7 separate regions of the Homo sapiens genome follow, and all the other regions are linked to region 1. Evidence: promoter capture Hi-C in 16 types of primary human blood cells and fetal thymus (Javierre and others, 2016). All regions are on one chromosome and are shown on one strand. The core of a region is centred on a gene start or on the middle of the fragment in contact, and the rest is flanking DNA. Distances in the headings are between cores, read along the strand shown.

Region 1 (2,533 bases), core at 21-2,520:
CTTAAGTTGGACTGCAAAAGATTTTTAAGAAACAAACTAGAGGCTTACAAAAGAATTTACCAGGGAAGGATTTGCCAACACTTGGGGCAAAAATGACTGAGACACGTAATTGAAAAGCAGGGCGAGGAAACAGAATGTCCCTCCCCTCCTCCCTGGCTGGTGGTAGTTTTGTATTGGATCAGGTTGAAAGGATTCGAGCCACTTTAAAACAATCAACAAAAATCTCCAACTTCCGTTCCTGAATTAGCAAAGCGAGTTCTACTCTTGCCAGCCGCGGTAACTCTAGAAATTGTGTATGTTTGTCACTGGACCTGCCTAGGACGCACCTTGGGGGAGAGGGGGAGTACTGGGGGCGGTGGTTTCAAGCTCTGTGTGCCCCTCCTTTGCACAAGGTAGTCGGTGTAGAAGAACAGAGGCGGGCAGTGGACATAGGGGAGGTGGCCCAGCCTGAATTCAAGCATCGTTGGTGCAAGCCACGCTCTCAAGGCGCATTTCCTAACTTCCTAAAGAAGTAACAACAGCAACTAACTTTTATTGACTGTTGACTATAGACAAGGCTTCGTTGTTGCCGCTTTACGTGCATTAATTCATTTAATCTGCAAAACAACCAAACATGAAACAGCAGGAAGGAAATTCTACAAACTCCCCTTCTTGCTCAAGTTAAGAAAGTCTCCTCTTCTGGTGCATTTCAGTAAGACTCAAATCCTCCCCACCCTGGGAGGCGCAGAAAGCCAAACTTCCTCCAAAAAAAAAAAGGCAAAAAAAAAAAAAAAATCACTTCAGTCCAGGCTGGGGGTATCTGGCTCCCCGGGAGGCGCCCGGGCTCCCCGGGGCCCTGGCAGACGCCGGCAGCTTTTCTGGGCCCGCACTCGGGGACCTCGCCCGCCCGGCATCGCGATTGTGCAAGCGCCGGGCGGCAACCACGGCCGCCGCTGCCGGCTCCTGCCCGCCGGGGGAGGGCGGGGAGGCGCGTTCGAAGCACACCCGGTGAACTCCGGGCTTCGCATGACTTCCTGGGGGTTATCTCCGGGGTGGAGTCTGCCGCCCCCACCCCACCTCCCGCGCCCAGCGAACATAGCCCCGGTCACCCCAGGCCCGGACGCCCTCGCTCACCTCGCTGACTCCATCCTCCTTCCACCCCCCCTCCCCTGGGTCCCGCGTCCCTCGGAGTCTGGCCAGCCGGGGGCCACTCCGCCCTCCTCTGCGTGCTCATTGGCCACCCAGGGCATGCTCTGTCTCCATAAATGCATGGTCCCTGGGCATAGGAACATGGAGAGGGACAGGAGGAAACGCAGCGCCAGCAGCATCTCATCTACCCTCCTTGACACCTCCCCGTGGCTCCAGCCAGACCCTAGAGGTCAGCCTTGCGGACCAACAGGAGGACTCCCAGCTTTCCCTTTTCAAGAGGTCCCCAGACACCGGCCACCCTCTTCCAGCCCCTGCGGCCAGTGCAAGGAGGCACCAATGCTCTGAGGCTGTCGCGTGGTGCAGCGTCGAGCATCCTCGCCGAGGTCCTTTCTGCTGCCTGTCCCGCCTCACCCCGCTCCATCACACCAGCTGGCCCTCTTTGCTTCCTTTTCCCAGAATCGTTAAGCCCCGACTCCCACTAGCACCTCGTACCAACCTCGCCCCACCCCATCCTCCTGCCTTCCCGCGCTCCGGTGTCCCCCGCTGCCATGAGCTCCCCCATCAGCAAGAGCCGCTCGCTTGCCGCCTTCCTGCAGCAGCTGCGCAGTCCGAGGCAGCCCCCGAGACTGGTGACATCTACGGCGTACACGTCCCCTCAGCCGCGAGAGGTGCCAGTCTGCCCGCTGACAGCTGGTGGCGAGACTCAGAACGCGGCCGCCCTGCCGGGCCCCACCAGCTGGCCACTGCTGGGCAGCCTGCTGCAGATTCTCTGGAAAGGGGGTCTCAAGAAACAGCACGACACCCTGGTAAACCCCTTTTCGCGCCCCTGACTCTCTCCTCCCTCTTCCGCCCTCCCAGTGGCGCTCCAAACCCTCCCCGACATGCGCGCCTCGGGCGCATGGTGCGCTTCGGCGTCTGGGCAGGGAGGGTCCCCGGTCCCCTAGGAGGAAGGAGGCGGGAGGAGGGAAAGCGCTTCGGGCACGGCGGAGGATGCGCGCTGACACCGCGCTGTGCCCGGCCGGCTGCAGGTGGAGTACCACAAGAAGTATGGCAAGATTTTCCGCATGAAGTTGGGTTCCTTTGAGTCGGTGCACCTGGGCTCGCCATGCCTGCTGGAAGCGCTGTACCGCACCGAGAGCGCGTACCCGCAGCGGCTGGAGATCAAACCGTGGAAGGCCTATCGCGACTACCGCAAAGAAGGCTACGGGCTGCTGATCCTGTGAGTCCAATCCGAGGGACCTGGGCATGCGGCCAGACCTGATGAGCCTGACGGCGCCTGGAAATTGTGAAGAGGCGGAGTTAGAGTTCCCTGGGGTTGGAAGCTTCTTACGTAGGGCGGATACCAAAGCCCCTCTCCCGTGCCATCGCAACCCTGAGCTCTTGTACAGATTAGAGTCGGTCCACG
Region 2 (2,533 bases), core at 18-2,517, 990 kb after region 1:
TTCCTCATAGACATGTTATAAGGATTAAATGCACTAATGTACATATATGCCTGGTATACAGTAGGTATATAATTTAAAATATTGATACATATAAGTACTTGCTAATCAGGTTCTTATATACGTAAGAACCGTATATATATAGGCAATTTACGTTCTTATAACTTAGGCAGCTGGTTCATAGGTATACTGAATTTATGAGAGTATGAATGTTTATTAATATGTATTCATATGTATATGTGTGTGTAAGATGGAGCTAGACATATATATTTAATTATATACCTATTTGGACCTATTTCTTCTATGGACTAGCACCAAATCCTAACAAGGCTTGTGGACATTTATTCTGTCTCATAGCCCTTGTGTATTCTACAGACCCTCTCCATTGTCTAGCAAGTGCATTTCATTAATTTAGAAAGATGCTGTTGAGAAAGTATGGACTCATCACCAAAAAGCTTCTCTGTCCTAGAGAAATCAAAGTGAAGAGCAGGCTCCAGGAAACAAGGTTGCTTAGCATTGCCTTGTATCTCTAGTCCAATGTAGATTTTACACTGAACATTGAAAACCTGGTGAACTTTTCTGAAAATAACTTGATCGACTCCCAGTTAGGAGCAGATTCATGTCAGGCGCTTCTCCAAAAGTCCCCTCGGCTGTAGAGCTGGGGGAACAGGCATGTTGTACCATTTATGTAATGATACATGGCTGGCCCTCCCCTCCCCCTTAAAGAAGGCAGAGAGAAATGATAGTCATTGCCGCCATGCAAAGTCGCATTGGAATTGTGGGAGCATTTTGGTTTTCATGAATTTTGAGAAGGGAACTGTGGGCACAAAACTACTGCTATTTGTCCTGACAAACTGCCTGTTCTGATGAATTAAGTGTCATGATTGTAACCCACGAATACCTTCAGTTCCAGGAACAGAAAGTCTTCCAGACTTGCTTCGTGCCACATTTCTGAGGGTTCTAATGATATATGGAGAGGGTGAGCCATGTTACCAGGAGGCGGGTGGTTTAAGGGTAGCAGGAGCTGCCTGAGCCACGCTTTTGGAGATGGGAGGTATGCATATGTTAGAGACAGCCACACTTTACTGATTTCCCATTTTCCCTCATGATAGCACCACCCTTTTCCCTCAGATCACTTTTTCTCAGAAATGCTCCATCTGAATAAAATTATTATCCCAAGCACATATTTTTTTTTTTCTTTCCCATCAGCATTTCCTGTCCTCTCACCTTAAAAAAAAACAGCACTGAGAACTTTTCAACCAAATGCAGCCATGTGGAGCTTGAGTTGTTTCAGATTTACACAGGCCCTCTGCTAACATCCTGTCGGGTGCTAAAATCCCACAGCTGTTCTGCTGGGACCACCCGGCTAGCCACGGACCACATCTGACAAAATGATACTGCTCGCTTCCAGAACTCCTCACACAGTTATTCTTGGATAAAAGGTAAAGCAAATAGCAAGCCAACTGCTCACTGCTGCAGAAACAAAGACCATCTAGCCATTTATCAAAGCTCGAGACACCGGTTTGCTTTAAACACAGACACCTCTCCCATTACAGCTTTAAACGATAACACGATATTATATCAGAAATGACAAATGGCACAGGTGGGGCCTAACCTATACACAATCGATACCTGCTCAGAAGTAAGAACCATCTTGAACGTATCGACAGAAGGAACAGGAATTCTCATAATACTGCAATGTTTTCTTGGTGTTGTGTTGGAACCAGAGGCCAACAGTATTCATCTGGGCATGACATTTTTTCACCAGCGATGTGTAGCCCCCAGACGTGCGGCGAGTGTCAAATCATTATCACTGTCCTGTATCTATGCTATATTGGATTCTAAAAGGCCCAGGCCAAGGAAATTGATTAGGTTGCTCCCTCCACAGCTTAAAACTCATTTTGGCTATATACACACAAAGAAAGGGGCTCCTCGAACTACCAGGCTCCATGAAAAATGGCAGAAGTGTAATTAAGGAGATTATGCCCTAGGGGTTTCTTTCGACCTGGCCCCAAAATATATATATATATATATTAAACCCTAGTGTCCCTGCGCACACACTGCCCCCAAGAGGAGACAAGCTTTCATGTTTAGATTGCAAAGAAGTAACTCTCCCCCAAGTGATTGATGAGGGGAGATTGTTAATACGGCTGCTGCCTCCCTCCCCCGTGTGGTTGTATTTAGGTGGATGCCAGACAGAGAATGACTTGGAAATGGGATAAAAGACTCAAAGCAAAGGCGGGTGGCAGAGAGGAGAGGTGGTGTGATGAATGCCTGCAGGCAGGTGAAAAGAAACCTTCTTCAATAATGGGGGTACCTCGGTTTGACATGCTGCCCTGAAAACAATACAGGTGGTGAGGATGGCAACCTGAGACCACTCAGAAAAAGTGAGATGGATGTGAGCACATATAGAGTTTTCTTCCTAGAGCTGACTGCTTGACCCCAAACCCTCAAACTATTACTTGCAGTATTTTATCAAAGACACAGACTTGCAGAGCTTCAAGCCTAGGGTTTCTGATTCAGTACGTTTGCAGTG
Region 3 (2,533 bases), core at 10-2,509, 960 kb after region 1:
GCAGGTGCTGGCATCGGCCAAGCGCAGACAGGTGGGGCCGCGGCAGGTGCGGCTCTCGCACTATCCCCCTTTCACAACTTGGGAGGACACAGCTTCACCGGGTGGGCCTGACAGCGAGCAATTACTCATCCATCGATACAGCCGCACATCACCAGCAATGTGACTTTCTGGAATATGTAATGCGACCACAGACTTTCTAATGCCGCAGCCTGACAATCAGACACTAAAAATAACAAACGGGCCCGCTCAGGAACAGAAAGACACGGCCTCTTTGGAAACTGGGGATGGGCCGTTTCCAACTCTGCTCACCGCTGGAGCCCTGCACGGAATTCTCCGGGCGGTGAAGTGAGTCGCCAGGAGCTGCCAGGGGCTGCAGGGAGAGTTCCCGCATTTGAAGGGTGTGTTCACTTTTAGACAACTCAGTCCCAGCAAGATGTAGACAAATTGGAGCAAGTTCAGAGAAGAACAACCCACATGATTAAGGGGAAAGAGGATTGATTTATAGAGAAATATTAAAGCAGCCAAACATGTCTGCGCTGTGTTCTCCAGGTGACAAATCAGAGAGTGACACATTGTGGGGCTCCATGCACCTTTGAGAGGTGTAAACATCAGGGGATGAGAAACTAGCTCAGTGCAAGGAGCTTTTCACAGCATTTTCTAAGATGGCATTAACACCAGAAAATGTTCCTGGCTGGTGAAGGGTTGGTTGGGTCGCACCTATGCTTGAGAACCCTTTGTTGTCCTGATTTTGCCTGGCATAAAATGACATATCCTAGCTAGGGGTTCACATTTGTGGCCTTCAGTGCTCTGGCTGTGGCCTATTTTTCCTTGTATGTTCACGTCCTTGACTTTCTGCCAGGGATTCCGCCACCCCAGTCCCATTTGTCCTCACTCCAGCTTTACCTGACTACCTGTCTTACTCCTCCATCAGGAACTGAAATGCTTAGGAGCCAACAATGGCTTGGCTGGTGAAGTGAGGTGTGGAGAGGGCTGGGGAAGACAACAGGACCAGCAATTGCAAGGTGAGAACAGATGACAGGGACATTCCTTGGGTGTTGACTTCATAGAATGCTGAAATACTAGTGTCTTATTAAAAAGTGAGCTGGCCCCCCACTGTTTTCTATTCCTCATTCTGAGGAAGAGCTAAGGTCGTGCCTTTCTGTCCTCCAGATATGAGTCTCTGGGAATTTGACTGGGGAAGAAGGTCTTGGCCAAAATGAAGAATTCTGGGAGAAGAGGAATCAGACATCAGAGACAGGTGTTTGGCCTTAGGGGAAAAAGGGCAGGAGCTCAACCCTAGGAGAAAGACTGGGAATTAGGCCTGGGACCCCTCTTTTCCCATCCCTATGAAACCATTTTTTAAATTTTTTTTTTTTTTTTTTGAGACGGAGTTTTGCTCCTGTTGCCCAGGCTGGAGTGCAATGGCGCGACCTCGGCTCACCACAACCTCCGCTTCCTGAGTTCAAGCTATGCTCCTGCCTCAGCCTCCTGAGTAGCTGGAATTACAGGCATGTGCCACCATGCCCGGCTAATTTTGTATTTTTAGTAGAGATGGGGTTTCTCTCCATGTTGGTCAGGCTGGTCTCGAACTCCCGACCTCAGGTGATCCACCTGCCTTGGCCTCTCAAAGTGGTGGGATTACATGTGTGAGCCACCGTGCCCAGCCTTTCTTACATTTTTAATATAGTCTCTTCCTCACTTCTCCCCTCCCAAAGGCAAAAAAAAAATCTAGGATGCCTCCATGATGGAACTCTGACTGTAGACCATAGCTGAAGGAGCTCTGGAAAGAAAGCAAATGTCTGGCAAAAGCCACTCAACCTCTCCCATATACCAGGAAATGAGAACCAAAAGAGAAACAAGATACTGTGGCATGGTTAGACAGTGGAAGGGTGTGGTGAGAACGCTTTTCATATGACAGGCAGCTCTCAAAATGCTGCTATTTTGCTCTTAAAAACCACCGCAATATACTGGAATCCCGGGAAGTGGTGTTGTGATCTTGGGATGATGTGGCAGGGCTGTAAGGACTTAGACCAGTGTTTGCCACGTGGAAAAGTGGGCTCAGTGCTGTTAGATTTTCTACTTTTTCTCACAGTAGCCTGAAATTCAGGTTTTGATGAGATAATCTTTAAAAAAAACTCAAACAAACAACCTCCCTGCAAAAACAAACCCAAACTGCATTTCTGCAGGAGGACATTAGCCTATGGGTCCCGCCCACTGGTGTGCCCGATCTCAGTGTCCATTGGATTTTTTATCCTTCCTTTTCCCTCAGATGGCCCTTCCCTCATCTCCCCATGAACTCTTATCTCAACCTTTTAAATGCCACATCCTTCACAAATCTTGCTTCAATCAAGCTCATTGCAATGACACTCTCCTCTCAGGTTTACGGGCTCCTTCTTAGATTAATTATAATAATAATAGTGTTTATTGATTGAGTGCTTACTAAGCACAGGCAGGCACTGGACACTCTACACACCCTCCCTTCCTTCTGCTTCATTCCTTTCTCTGCTCACATTGTCTTCTTCTTCTTTTCATT
Region 4 (2,533 bases), core at 23-2,522, 920 kb after region 1:
GGCTTGTAGAATCAGAAGATGCTGAGGATTCCAGTTGGACTGCCGGCCTTTTCTTTTATGCAAAGTTGAGACTTCACTGGAGACATCCTCAAAGCGCCTGACATCCATTTCCAGCTTCATGGGGGGGACCCTGGAGGAGGAGGCTGGCTTTGGGGTGGTGGCTTTGGGGAGGACTTTGACCATGTCGGCGATGTCAGACAGAGCGTGCTTCTGAGGTGGGGACATACAAGATTGTGCTTGCGAGGACTCGGCTTTCTTGCTTTTGGACTTGGTCAGGTCAATGGGCTGATCGCTGTTCTCAAACAGGTAGCGCCTGGACACGCTGGCTGACCTTGTGGAGGCAGGACTCAAGACCGGCTTGTCCATGACATTGAGATTCGACTTGTGGAACATGGAAATTGTGCTTGAACTTGGGCTGGAGCAGGAAGGTGAGCGCAAGGGCTCCGTGGCTTTGCCCAAGTGATTGTTCAGGACGGACTGCAGGGCGCTGAGTGGGTTGATGCATGGCAGGGCCGGGGCGTGGTTGGCGAGGGCGCACCCATTGCTCAGAGCAGATGTGGGCTCCAGGGGCTGGGGTTTCTCCTTCTCGCTGCCCTCTTTCATCAGCTTCTCCTCCTCCTTCAGGGGACCCAGCTCGGTCTTTTTGGCTTCTGGAGGTGTTTCACTTTTGCGGAAAGAATCGCCCTCACTGTGGCTGAAAGATGAGGCCTCTTCGTGGGGACTTTCTTTCCCACACTCCTTCACCGCTTCATCTTTGTCTTCTGACTCTTTCTTGACTTGAGTGTAAGGGGCCAGGTGTGTGGGCATAGAAACCAGTGGCATCACTTTCCACTTTGGTGCAATGGGCCTCAGCTTGTTGGTGAGATTAGGCCGGATCTGCAGTACCTGGGATCCCATAGGCAAAGGCGGCTTGGTGCCCTCAGACAGCTGGTAGGCTGCGTGGATGCTGGGGTAGGCACTCCAGCTGGGGGCCCCGTTTTGGGCTTTGTTGATGGCTGTGGTGACAGTATTTTCCAAAGATTTCAAAATGTCCCCTCCACCCTTTGAGCCATCTTCCAAGTCTTCCTCCCTTAGGTATTGATATTTGATTGTAGGGTCTAAAGGTTTTTGTAGAGGATCTTCATAGTCCTCGCTTTTCACGACTTTCTCATCCTTGCTGGTTTCCTCTGGCCTTTCTTTTTTACTCTCTTTCTTTAACTCAGTTGTAGAGGCTGTACAATCTGATGCTGAGTTACTGGATGGCTTGGGAGCCAGAGAATCACTGTTTGGGGCCTCAGACAACGACTGCATTTTCTCCACTGCTAACGGGTCTAATACCAGCTGCTTCCCTTTCTTGGAGGCAGAGCTGGTGACCTTGAGAAAGTGACCTGTGACCATCATGTGGGTGGTGAGCTGCTGCAAGGTGTCATGGGAGCTCCCACACTCCATGCACTTTAAGATCTGGGACTTGCAGGCCTCAAACTGCCAGGTGTAGCTGGCTCCATTTTGGTAGCCATAGCGGTTGTTGGAGGACAACTGCAAGTTGGCGTTCTTCTGAGAAGAAAAAGAATCTGCAAAAGATCCTGTGGTTGAATCGGGGGAACACGGCCGATTGACATCAAAAACGCGTTTCTTAGCCGGGGTGACCATTTTCGAGGAAATGGTTGGGACTGGCTCCTTCAAAGGCACTTTTTGGTAATGTTTTGTTTTAATCATGTGGACGCTCAAATCTTGGAGGGAATCAAAGGAGTCGCCACAAAACATACATTTCAGAACCTTTTGAGCATCCTCTTTGTCCATATCCTGGAAAGCCCTTTTCCTGGGCTTTGAATAGCTCGTGGGTCTGAGCTTGTCCTTTTTGCGGTTGTCATCTTGATAGTGGCCCGTTTCATTCATGTGCACAGTCAGCTCGACTAGGGTGTCATAGGCCGCGCTGCACTGTCGGCATCGGAATCTGCTGGCCCCTGTGAACACAGTCCCGCACATCTTGCTGCTCTGTCGGTACAACTGCACCGAGCTGAACAGGCTGGGTTTCGAGACGGACCGAGAAGGCAAGTTCTGCTGCAGGCTTTTGGACAGAGCGTCTTGGTGCCAATCAAAATCACTCTTGTTGCTGCCGTTTCGGGTGTCACAGTTCCTCCTCTCACTATTGGACAGCTTGAAGCCAAGGCCCAGGCCTGACCAGTAGGAATCCGACAGGATGTTGGCGTAGACAGCGGTCATTTTATCCATGCAATTGTGTGCTTCGTTTGGAAGCCTGACGTGAGTGTGTGCTTTCTTGTCTGAGGCATCTCTGCCGCAGACACTCTTGATGTCCGACACCTGATCACTGGCGTCACTCAGCAGAGACTCGTTCTCGGCATCCTGATTGGACAAATGACTTCCTGGAGAGTTCTGGTAGCTGAAGCAGCCTTTTTGCTCTGGGCCCGTTTCTAGCTCCTCGTCCGTCCCTGTGTCATTGCCACCCTGCAGTTGAGCTACTGAACCGCTGTCCTCCTCCTCCTCCTCTTCTTTTATTTCCTCCTCTTCTTTCAGCTGTTCCTCCTGGGCGTAG
Region 5 (2,533 bases), core at 25-2,524, 900 kb after region 1:
GCGCAGCGGTGCGATCTCGGCTCACTGCAATCTCCGTCTCCCAGGTTCAAGCAATTCTCCTGCCTCAGCTTCCTGAGTAGCTGGGATTACAGGCACGCGCCACCACACCCAGCTAATTTTTGTATTTTTAGTAGATATGAGGTCTCACCAGGATGGTCTCGATCTCCTGACCTTGTGATCTGCCCGCCTTGGCCTCCCAAAGTGCTGGGATTACAGGTGTGAGTCACTGCGCCCGGCCACTAGTGGTTTACTTTTATCGGAATGGATTCCTCTTGGGAGATGGGCAGTGATGGCATGCTTGGGAGTCCGGGTGGTCCAGGGGAGATTCGGGAAGAGCAGTTGTATCCTGGTCCTCTAGAGCCCACCCGGGGCCCCACAGTGTGAAGCTGAGAGAATCTGTCCCCATGAACACGTGTCTTCTTTGTTTGAAGTCCCTTCTCCTCCCTAGGCAAGCATGGTCCTGAGTGATCCAGAATTCTCCCAGGTCCACGCATTCCTTCCCATGCTCACCGCCTCCACTGAGGCTCCAACCAAGGCCATCTGTTCCCGGTCTCCCAACAGCCTCCTTGCTGGCCTCCTGCTTTCACTCCTGACCCTCTTGTCCATTCCACACCCAGTAGCCAGAGTGATCTTATAAAAATGAAAGTAGGCTGGGCGTGGTGGCTCATTCCTATAATCCCAGCACTTTGGAAAGTCGAGGCAGGTGGATCACCTGAGGTCAGGAGTTCGAGAGCAGTCTGGCCAACATAGTGAAACCCTGTCTCCACTAAAAATACAAAATTAGGCGTGGTGGCACATGCCTGTAATTCCAGTTACTCAGGACGCTGAGGAAGGAGAATCACTTGAACCCAGGAGGCAGAGGTTGCAGTGAGCCAAGATCGCACCATTGCACTCCAGCCTGGGCAAGAAGAGTGAAACTCTGTCTCAAAAAAAGAAAGAAAGTAGATCATGCCACATGCCTGTTCAAGCTGCTTCAATGGCTTCCCAGTGGACCTAATGAAAAACAAATCCAACGTTCTTTTATTTCCCCACCCAGTTAGCATGGTCTCAAAAAATCCAAAGTTCTTAGCATGTTCTACAAAGCCCTGAGTTGTCCCATGCTCATCCCACAATTCATGTCCCACCACTGGATGCCCAGCTCATGACACTCCGGCCTTTCTCTGAATCAAACATATCAGCCCTGCTCCTGTTTCTCCTGCCTGGGATGTTCTGCTTCCAAGTTGCCACCTGACTCCTGTCTTTTCAATCTCCTCTATTTAAAGTAGGTGGCCCTGTCACAGTCCCTTGCACTACCCCATATTTCCTTGGTAGCCCCTCATTCTCAGAAATTGTTACTTGTATTTATGTGCTCAATAGATGTTAGCCCTTAGTATTATTATCAACCTGCATCCCCTGTTTCTCTTATTCTCTGGTGTAGCCCAGGACTCAGAACAGAGCCTGGCACACAGCAGTTCCTCCAAGAGTTAGCATAGACATTTCTTACCCCGGATGCAAAAACATCCTGGCAGAGTGTTAGTCCTTTCTACGGCAGGCTGGAAATGTTTCTTACATCCTCATACTTTTCTGGCTGTGCAAAGCCTGAAGATTCATTTGCACTGGGCTTATGTTAGATGCTGGGGACTGTGCTTCATGTTTTGTGTACTTTTATGTATTTGATCTGCCTCACGGATGAGAGACGTAAGTATTATTGTCATTTCGCCCATGGAGGATGGCAAAAGGAAGTATAATCACTTCCTAGATAGCATGTCCCTTTCTCCCTCTCTCTTCTCCTTCCTTCCTTTCTTTTATCCAATATTTGTAGAGTCTGGGTTCCAAGGAATACAACAGGAAGCCAGTCAGATGCAGCCCCTGCCCTCCCAGAGCTTCGAGGTGGAGGTCGACCTTGTATCCAATGTCAACTGGAGGCTCAGTTAAAAGTCCACTTCTCGGCCGGGCACGGTGGTTCATGCCTGTAATCCTAGCACTTTGGGAGGCCGAGGCAGGCAGACCATGAAGTTAAGAGTTCAAGACCAGCCTGACTAACATGGTGAAACCTTATCTCTACTAAATATACAAAAATTAGCCAGGTGTGGTGGTGCGTGCCTGTAATCCCAGCTACTCAGGAGGCTGAGGCTGGAGAATCACTTGAACCAGGGAGGTGGAGGTTGCAGTGAGCCGAAATCGCACCACTGCACTCCAGCCTGGCAACAGAACAAGACTCCGTCACAAAAGAAAAAAAAAAATCCACTTCTCCACTCACTTCCCAGCCCTGCAAAGTCAATTTCATGGAAACAATGCTCCAATATTTCATAAAGCAAACCTCAATTGAATATCTGTCTCTATGATCATGAAAAGACAAAGTTTGTGCACCCAAGGAGAAGCCATTGTATGCACATCCACCAGCCACCTGTCTGTTCAGCCTCCTCTCTCTGCCATCTGCTCCCCAAAACTGGGCTCTCTGCAATCATACTGAGCCACATGCATTTTCTGGAATGAACCACACCCTCTCTCTCACTTAACAAGACTTTACTCTTGCCGTTCCTTCTTTCCGCAA
Region 6 (2,533 bases), core at 12-2,511, 830 kb after region 1:
GCCTTGGTTTCCTTATCTGTAAAATGGGCATACGTGAGTGTCTACAGTGCTGTGCTTATGAGGATGAAAGAATACAATAGGGACGGGCTTCTTTGCAGGGTACTTGAGACAGAACAAGCACTGAAGATAATACTTACTATGAATTGATGTTATTAAGGAATCATTGCCCCCAGTGGAAACTCAAATTACCATTCAACCCTTTACTGGTTATACCGGACGTAAGCGTCAGCAACCCCATTGGTAAAATGGAACAATAGTGTTCATTCTTTAAGGTTTATATGAGGATTAAATGAGATACTACAGTATACCTGACCAGTACGCCTTAAAACAGTCAAGGTCATCATTAAAAAAAAAAAAAAAAAAAAGCCTGAGAAGATATTACTGCCAACAAGAGCCCAAGGAGACATGGAAAGTAGATGTGTTGTGGTATTCCGAGTGTGAGCCTGGAGCAGGAAAATGACGCAGGGAAACACTAAGGAAATCTGAATAGAGTATGGATTTTGGTTCATAATAACGTATCCGTGCTGGTTCATTTGTTGTGACAAATTTACGGTACTAACGTAAGGTGTTACAAATAGGGGAAACTGGGTGTGGGGCATGTGGGGGCTCTTTGGACAAGCATCTCAATTTTTCTGTATATTTAAAATTGTTCTGGCTGGGCATGATTGCTCACGCCTATAATCCCAGAACTTTAGGAGGCCGAGGTGGGTGGATCAACTGAGCTCAGGAGTTCGAGACCAGTCTGGTCAACGTGGTGAAGCCCCTTCTCTACTAAAAATACAAAAATTAGCTGGGTGTGGTGGCACACGCCTGTAATCCCAGCTACTTGGGAGGCTGAGACAGGAGAATCGCTTGAACCCGGGAGGTGGAGGTTGCAGTGAGTTGAGGTCACATCATTGCACTCCAGCCTGGGCAACAGAGCAGCTCTGTCCCCCCAGCCCGCACCCCCCTGCCCCACAAAGCAAATATATCTATACATACATAAATAAAAAACTGTTCTAAGAAATGAAGCATATTTAAAATAGATAAGAGATAATTCGGCCGGGTATGGCGGTTTAAGCCTGTAATTCCAGCACTTTGGGAGGCTGAGATGGGAGGATTGCTTGAGGTCAGCAGTTCGAGACTAGCCTGGTCAACATAGTAAGGACCCCATCTCTATTAAAAAAAAAAATAAAGAAAAAAGACAGAAAGAGATAATGCATGAAAAGCCTTAGCAAGGGTGGCCAACCTGTTCCTCCTTCTGTGATTATCCCAGTTTTAGGACTGACAATTTTATGTCCCAGGAAATCCCTCAGTCTCAGGCAAACTGGGATTATTGGTCACTCCAACCTTAGCACAGAGTCTGGCACAACTCAGCATCGCAATCAATGTTGTTGTATTCGTTCCCTGGTGGTGAGCTCAGCAAATGCTCTGGAAGGCTGGCGATCGGAGGTGGATAAGGGAAGCTGTGAGTTCTGATTTTGTATCTACCTCCTCAAGGACAAGCAAACTGAGGCAGGGAATTTACTCACTGCCCCGACAAATACTATTGAGCATCTACTATGTGCCAGGGACTGTCCTCTATGCTGGCATAGAAGGGGGCTAGGAACACAAAGGTCAATAAAGTCTTGGCCTGAAGGATCCTAAATCTAATAGCAGACCTAAAACTTATACAACAGTAATAACAAAAATTAAAATGACAATGGCAAGCACAGCCACCAACAAGCCAGCAGGTAGGAATAATTGCGCTCAATTTTTTTCAGATTGAGGAGTTGATGTCTGGAGAACTCAGGCAGCTTGTCCAAGCGAACACAGATGCAGGGCCTACCCCACCTTTGTCCCTCTCCCATGCTTGGTGATTGTCCCATTACTCACTGCTGTCTCTCATGTCTACAAGACAAAGAAGAGAGAAAGAGAGGGCTAGAGGCACAGCTGTTACATTACAGGAGCTTCAGAAGGACGAACTAGCCCAAGTTAGGTGAAATAAGAGAGGACGTCCTGGAAGAGACAGAATCTAAGTGAAACTGTGAAGGCTACATGGGGATCCTTCATAGGAGTGCGCAACACAGTTTCTCCCATGCAATCCCCACTGAGTTTCTTTGTCTTTGGAAATAACCTGTGTAGAATATTTTGAAAGGATGATGATATAGGGCTCATTGCACATTGTGCAATAATTTTTTGAAAAATCACCTTGTTTTAGCAGCCAGGTGCAGTGGCTCACGCCTGTAATCCCAGCACTTTGGGAGGCCAAGGCAGGCGGATCACGAGGTCAGGAGTTAGAGACCATCCTGACTAACACGGTGAAACCCCGTCTCTACTAAAAAATATACAAAAAATTAGCTGGGCATGGTGGCGGGCGCCTGTAGTCCCAGCTACTCGGAGGCTGAGGCAGGAGAATGACGTGAACTTGGGAGGCGGAGTTTGCAGTGAGCCGAGATTGTGCCACTGCACTCCAGCCTGGGTGACAGAGCGAGACTCCATCTCAAAAAAAAAAAAAAAAGAAAAAAGAAAGAAAAGTCACCTTGTTTTATCCTAGCATTCCTGCATTGGCTGC
Region 7 (2,533 bases), core at 12-2,511, 810 kb after region 1:
ATTATCCTGAACACAAAAGTTTTTAATATAAGGTTTGTCATAGCACAACTTTATATTAAAAGAACTGACTTTGAAGTCAAACTGCCTGGGTTTGATACTCCAGGTCTATTGTTTACAAGCTCTGTACCTTGTATAAGATACTTAATCTCTGGTTTCCCCATCTGAAAAATGGGGATAATGCTACATTTTTGGGCTTTCTAAGAATTAGGTAAGATAATCCCCATAAACGCTTAGCACAGTGCCTAGCACATTGTAAGACTGTCTAACTGTGATGTTATTATTAAAACCCTGACAAAAATCACACCATCTTGGAACCATGAAATATCACTCGTTGTGCATTCTAGAAACAAAAAAATATATAGTCACTACAAACTTGGTGAATTCAAGAGTAGACCTTGTCTGCTTCTATGTCTCTTATGCCCAGCACTGTGCTTCATATGGAGTAGAAGCTCGAAATATTTATTGACTTCGGTTAACAAAAGTAAAAGTCACGGGCAGAGTACTTAAAGTAGGCTGACCAGATGAGCACGTTCCACCAATTCTAGTACTGTGTAAATTACACCTTAGGACATAAAAGGAGGTGATATGTGTAACCATAAGTGTGCAAGGTAGGTGACAAAATGACATATGCTGTCTTATACTGAATTATCATTATTACACTGTCTTATATGTTAGATTTATTTATACTACATTTACAAAGTGTATCATTTCCCCCTTCACTTGGAAATCTTGATTTTTTCATTAAGATGCTTTCCTATTGCACAGAAACTCAGCAAGGGCTATGAAATGGGCATCAATGTTATCACCTTGGACTGAAAAGTCCATTTCAGTTGTACCTCTTTCTAGTACTAAAGTCAATGTAGGAGCTGATTGGCTGCCAAGTTGATAATCTTTCAATTAGTTCCAGAGCCTGAAGACATCTTTATAACGATGTCTTAAGGATGACTTTCCCCCACGATGTTTGTTGACAGACTGACCAATGCACTAATAAGACTGACTTAGGGTTGAATCCTGGTTTTGTTGCTCACCATCGGTGTGATCTTGGGCTTACCTCTCACCATCTTTAGCCTGGCTCGAAGCCCTCCACGGTCTGACTCCTGCCTGCCTTTCTGACTTGATCTCCTTTCCCTCTTTTGTCTAGCCATCTTTCTGTTCCAGCCACAGTGGCCTTCTCTCTGTCCTCGAACATACCAACCACATGGCTCAGAGCTGTTGTATTTGCTGGCCCCGCTGCTCAGATCTTCACCACGTGGGACAAATAAAGATTGTAATAGCCTCTTGCCAGCACAGTTTAATCTTTATGCCAAATGAATGTTGGCGCCAAACTAGTGTTGCCAGATTTAGCAAATGAAAATACAGCAAACCCAGTTAAATGTGAGTTTCAGATAAACAACGTGTAATATTTTTGTTTAAGTATGTTCCCTGCTGTCCTATTTATGAAAACACTTTAATTTTCAGAGATTTTTTGATTTGAGAATCACGGCTAAGGAATTGTAGGCATGTATTACTCTCTTTCATTTTACAGATAAGAAATTGAGGCACAGAGAGGTTAAATAACTTGGCTAAGATCACACAGCAAGAAAGAGCCAGAACAGGTTTGGCCCCAGTCTGCCTGACCCTAGACAGTTTTCACCCTTTTTATGAATGAAGGTCTGTGATGTTGAGCTTCTTTATCTACAAAAGCAAATTTGTAACTCCTAATTCATAAAGTTGTTGGTAGGATCGAATGATGAAATAATGTCTATAAAACAACTGGATTAGAGTAGGCCCTCCAAAAAAATAGTACTTACAGATTAAGGCTAACAGAGCAACCAGGAAGAAAAACGTTAACATGGGAATGTTTTCAAGCAGAAAAAGCAGGCCATCTTGAAAAAGACTGGTTCATATTACTCTTTCTTAGACTTGTGTTCACAATAGACATTTGGTTTTTGATTCCTAAAATAATAAATAGCATTCAAAGGATTTTTGGTTTTTAAAATAAGAAAAATATTCAAAGCGGTCACTTCATAAGGGAGAGACAAAAGATTTTGTCACCTAGATTATCTGTCAGCTGAGTGAAGTTTTATTTTTGCTTCATCAAGTGGCACAAGACCGTTTAAAAAACCCTAACGGATGAATGGTTTCTACAATTTATTTCTCCAAATAAATCTAACTTGCCATTTTATTTTATGCATAAATTGGTGGATTTTACCATCAAATAATTGGAAGTAAATTTTTTTTCAAAAAGATGAAGAACGGCTGGGTGCAGTGGCTCACGCCTGTAATCCCAGCACTTTGGGAGGCCGGGGTGGGTTGATCAACTGAGGCCAGGAGATCGAGACCAGCCTGGCCAACATGGTGAAACCCCATCTCTACTAAAAAAAACAAAAAAAAGTAGCCAGGCATGGTGGTGCACGCCTGTAGTCCCAGGTACTGGGGAGGCTGAGGCACGAGAACTGCTTGAACCTGAGTGGCGGAAGTTGCCGTGAGTCGAGATCCTGCCACTGCACTCCAGCCTGGGTGACAGAATGAGACTCTGTTTGGGAAAAAAAAA

What was found. The method cuts DNA at HindIII sites, captures the fragments that hold promoters and counts their contacts. A CHiCAGO score of 5 or more calls a contact.
Region 2: a contact is called between a fragment that was not itself captured here and the fragment with the promoter of CYP24A1 in region 1, in 1 of 17 cell types (neutrophils). The highest score is 5.0, in neutrophils.
Region 3: a fragment that was not itself captured here is called in contact with the fragment with the promoter of CYP24A1 in region 1 in 1 of 17 cell types (neutrophils); the score reaches 5.0 in neutrophils.
Region 4: a contact is called between a fragment that was not itself captured here and the fragment with the promoter of CYP24A1 in region 1, in 1 of 17 cell types (neutrophils). The highest score is 5.5, in neutrophils.
Region 5: a fragment that was not itself captured here is called in contact with the fragment with the promoter of CYP24A1 in region 1 in 2 of 17 cell types (neutrophils and non-activated CD4 T cells); the score reaches 7.1 in neutrophils.
Region 6: a contact is called between a fragment that was not itself captured here and the fragment with the promoter of CYP24A1 in region 1, in 1 of 17 cell types (neutrophils). The highest score is 6.7, in neutrophils.
Region 7: a fragment that was not itself captured here is called in contact with the fragment with the promoter of CYP24A1 in region 1 in 1 of 17 cell types (neutrophils); the score reaches 6.2 in neutrophils.

The regions. Positions count from the first base shown.
Region 1 is chr20:54,172,723-54,175,255 of GRCh38, reverse strand. It overlaps CYP24A1 (cytochrome P450 family 24 subfamily A member 1), which reads left to right and starts at 1,270. Exons shown (of 12, transcript NM_000782.5): 1 at 1,270-1,934; 2 at 2,157-2,347. The coding sequence starts at 1,677. RefSeq lists an enhancer at 1,047-1,640. The HindIII fragment of the contact is 2,450 bases long and covers 3-2,452 here.
Region 2 is chr20:53,186,400-53,188,932 of GRCh38, reverse strand. The region is part of intron 1 of TSHZ2 (teashirt zinc finger homeobox 2); the gene reads right to left. Among named protein-coding and RNA genes, the nearest start is that of TSHZ2, 220 kb to the right of the region's middle. The HindIII fragment of the contact is 1,626 bases long and covers 455-2,080 here.
Region 3 is chr20:53,214,718-53,217,250 of GRCh38, reverse strand. The region is part of intron 1 of TSHZ2 (teashirt zinc finger homeobox 2); the gene reads right to left. Among named protein-coding and RNA genes, the nearest start is that of TSHZ2, 240 kb to the right of the region's middle. The HindIII fragment of the contact is 6,183 bases long and covers 1-2,533 here.
Region 4 is chr20:53,253,500-53,256,032 of GRCh38, reverse strand. It overlaps TSHZ2 (teashirt zinc finger homeobox 2), which reads right to left. Exons shown (of 3, transcript NM_173485.6): 2 at 1-2,533. Among named protein-coding and RNA genes, the nearest start is that of TSHZ2-AS1, 250 kb to the left of the region's middle. The HindIII fragment of the contact is 4,977 bases long and covers 1-2,533 here.
Region 5 is chr20:53,271,704-53,274,236 of GRCh38, reverse strand. The region is part of intron 2 of TSHZ2 (teashirt zinc finger homeobox 2); the gene reads right to left. Among named protein-coding and RNA genes, the nearest start is that of TSHZ2-AS1, 230 kb to the left of the region's middle. The HindIII fragment of the contact is 4,570 bases long and covers 1-2,533 here.
Region 6 is chr20:53,340,131-53,342,663 of GRCh38, reverse strand. All of the region lies in intron 2 of TSHZ2 (teashirt zinc finger homeobox 2), which reads right to left. Among named protein-coding and RNA genes, the nearest start is that of TSHZ2-AS1, 160 kb to the left of the region's middle. The HindIII fragment of the contact is 4,559 bases long and covers 1-2,533 here.
Region 7 is chr20:53,358,348-53,360,880 of GRCh38, reverse strand. All of the region lies in intron 2 of TSHZ2 (teashirt zinc finger homeobox 2), which reads right to left. Among named protein-coding and RNA genes, the nearest start is that of TSHZ2-AS1, 140 kb to the left of the region's middle. The HindIII fragment of the contact is 3,082 bases long and covers 1-2,533 here.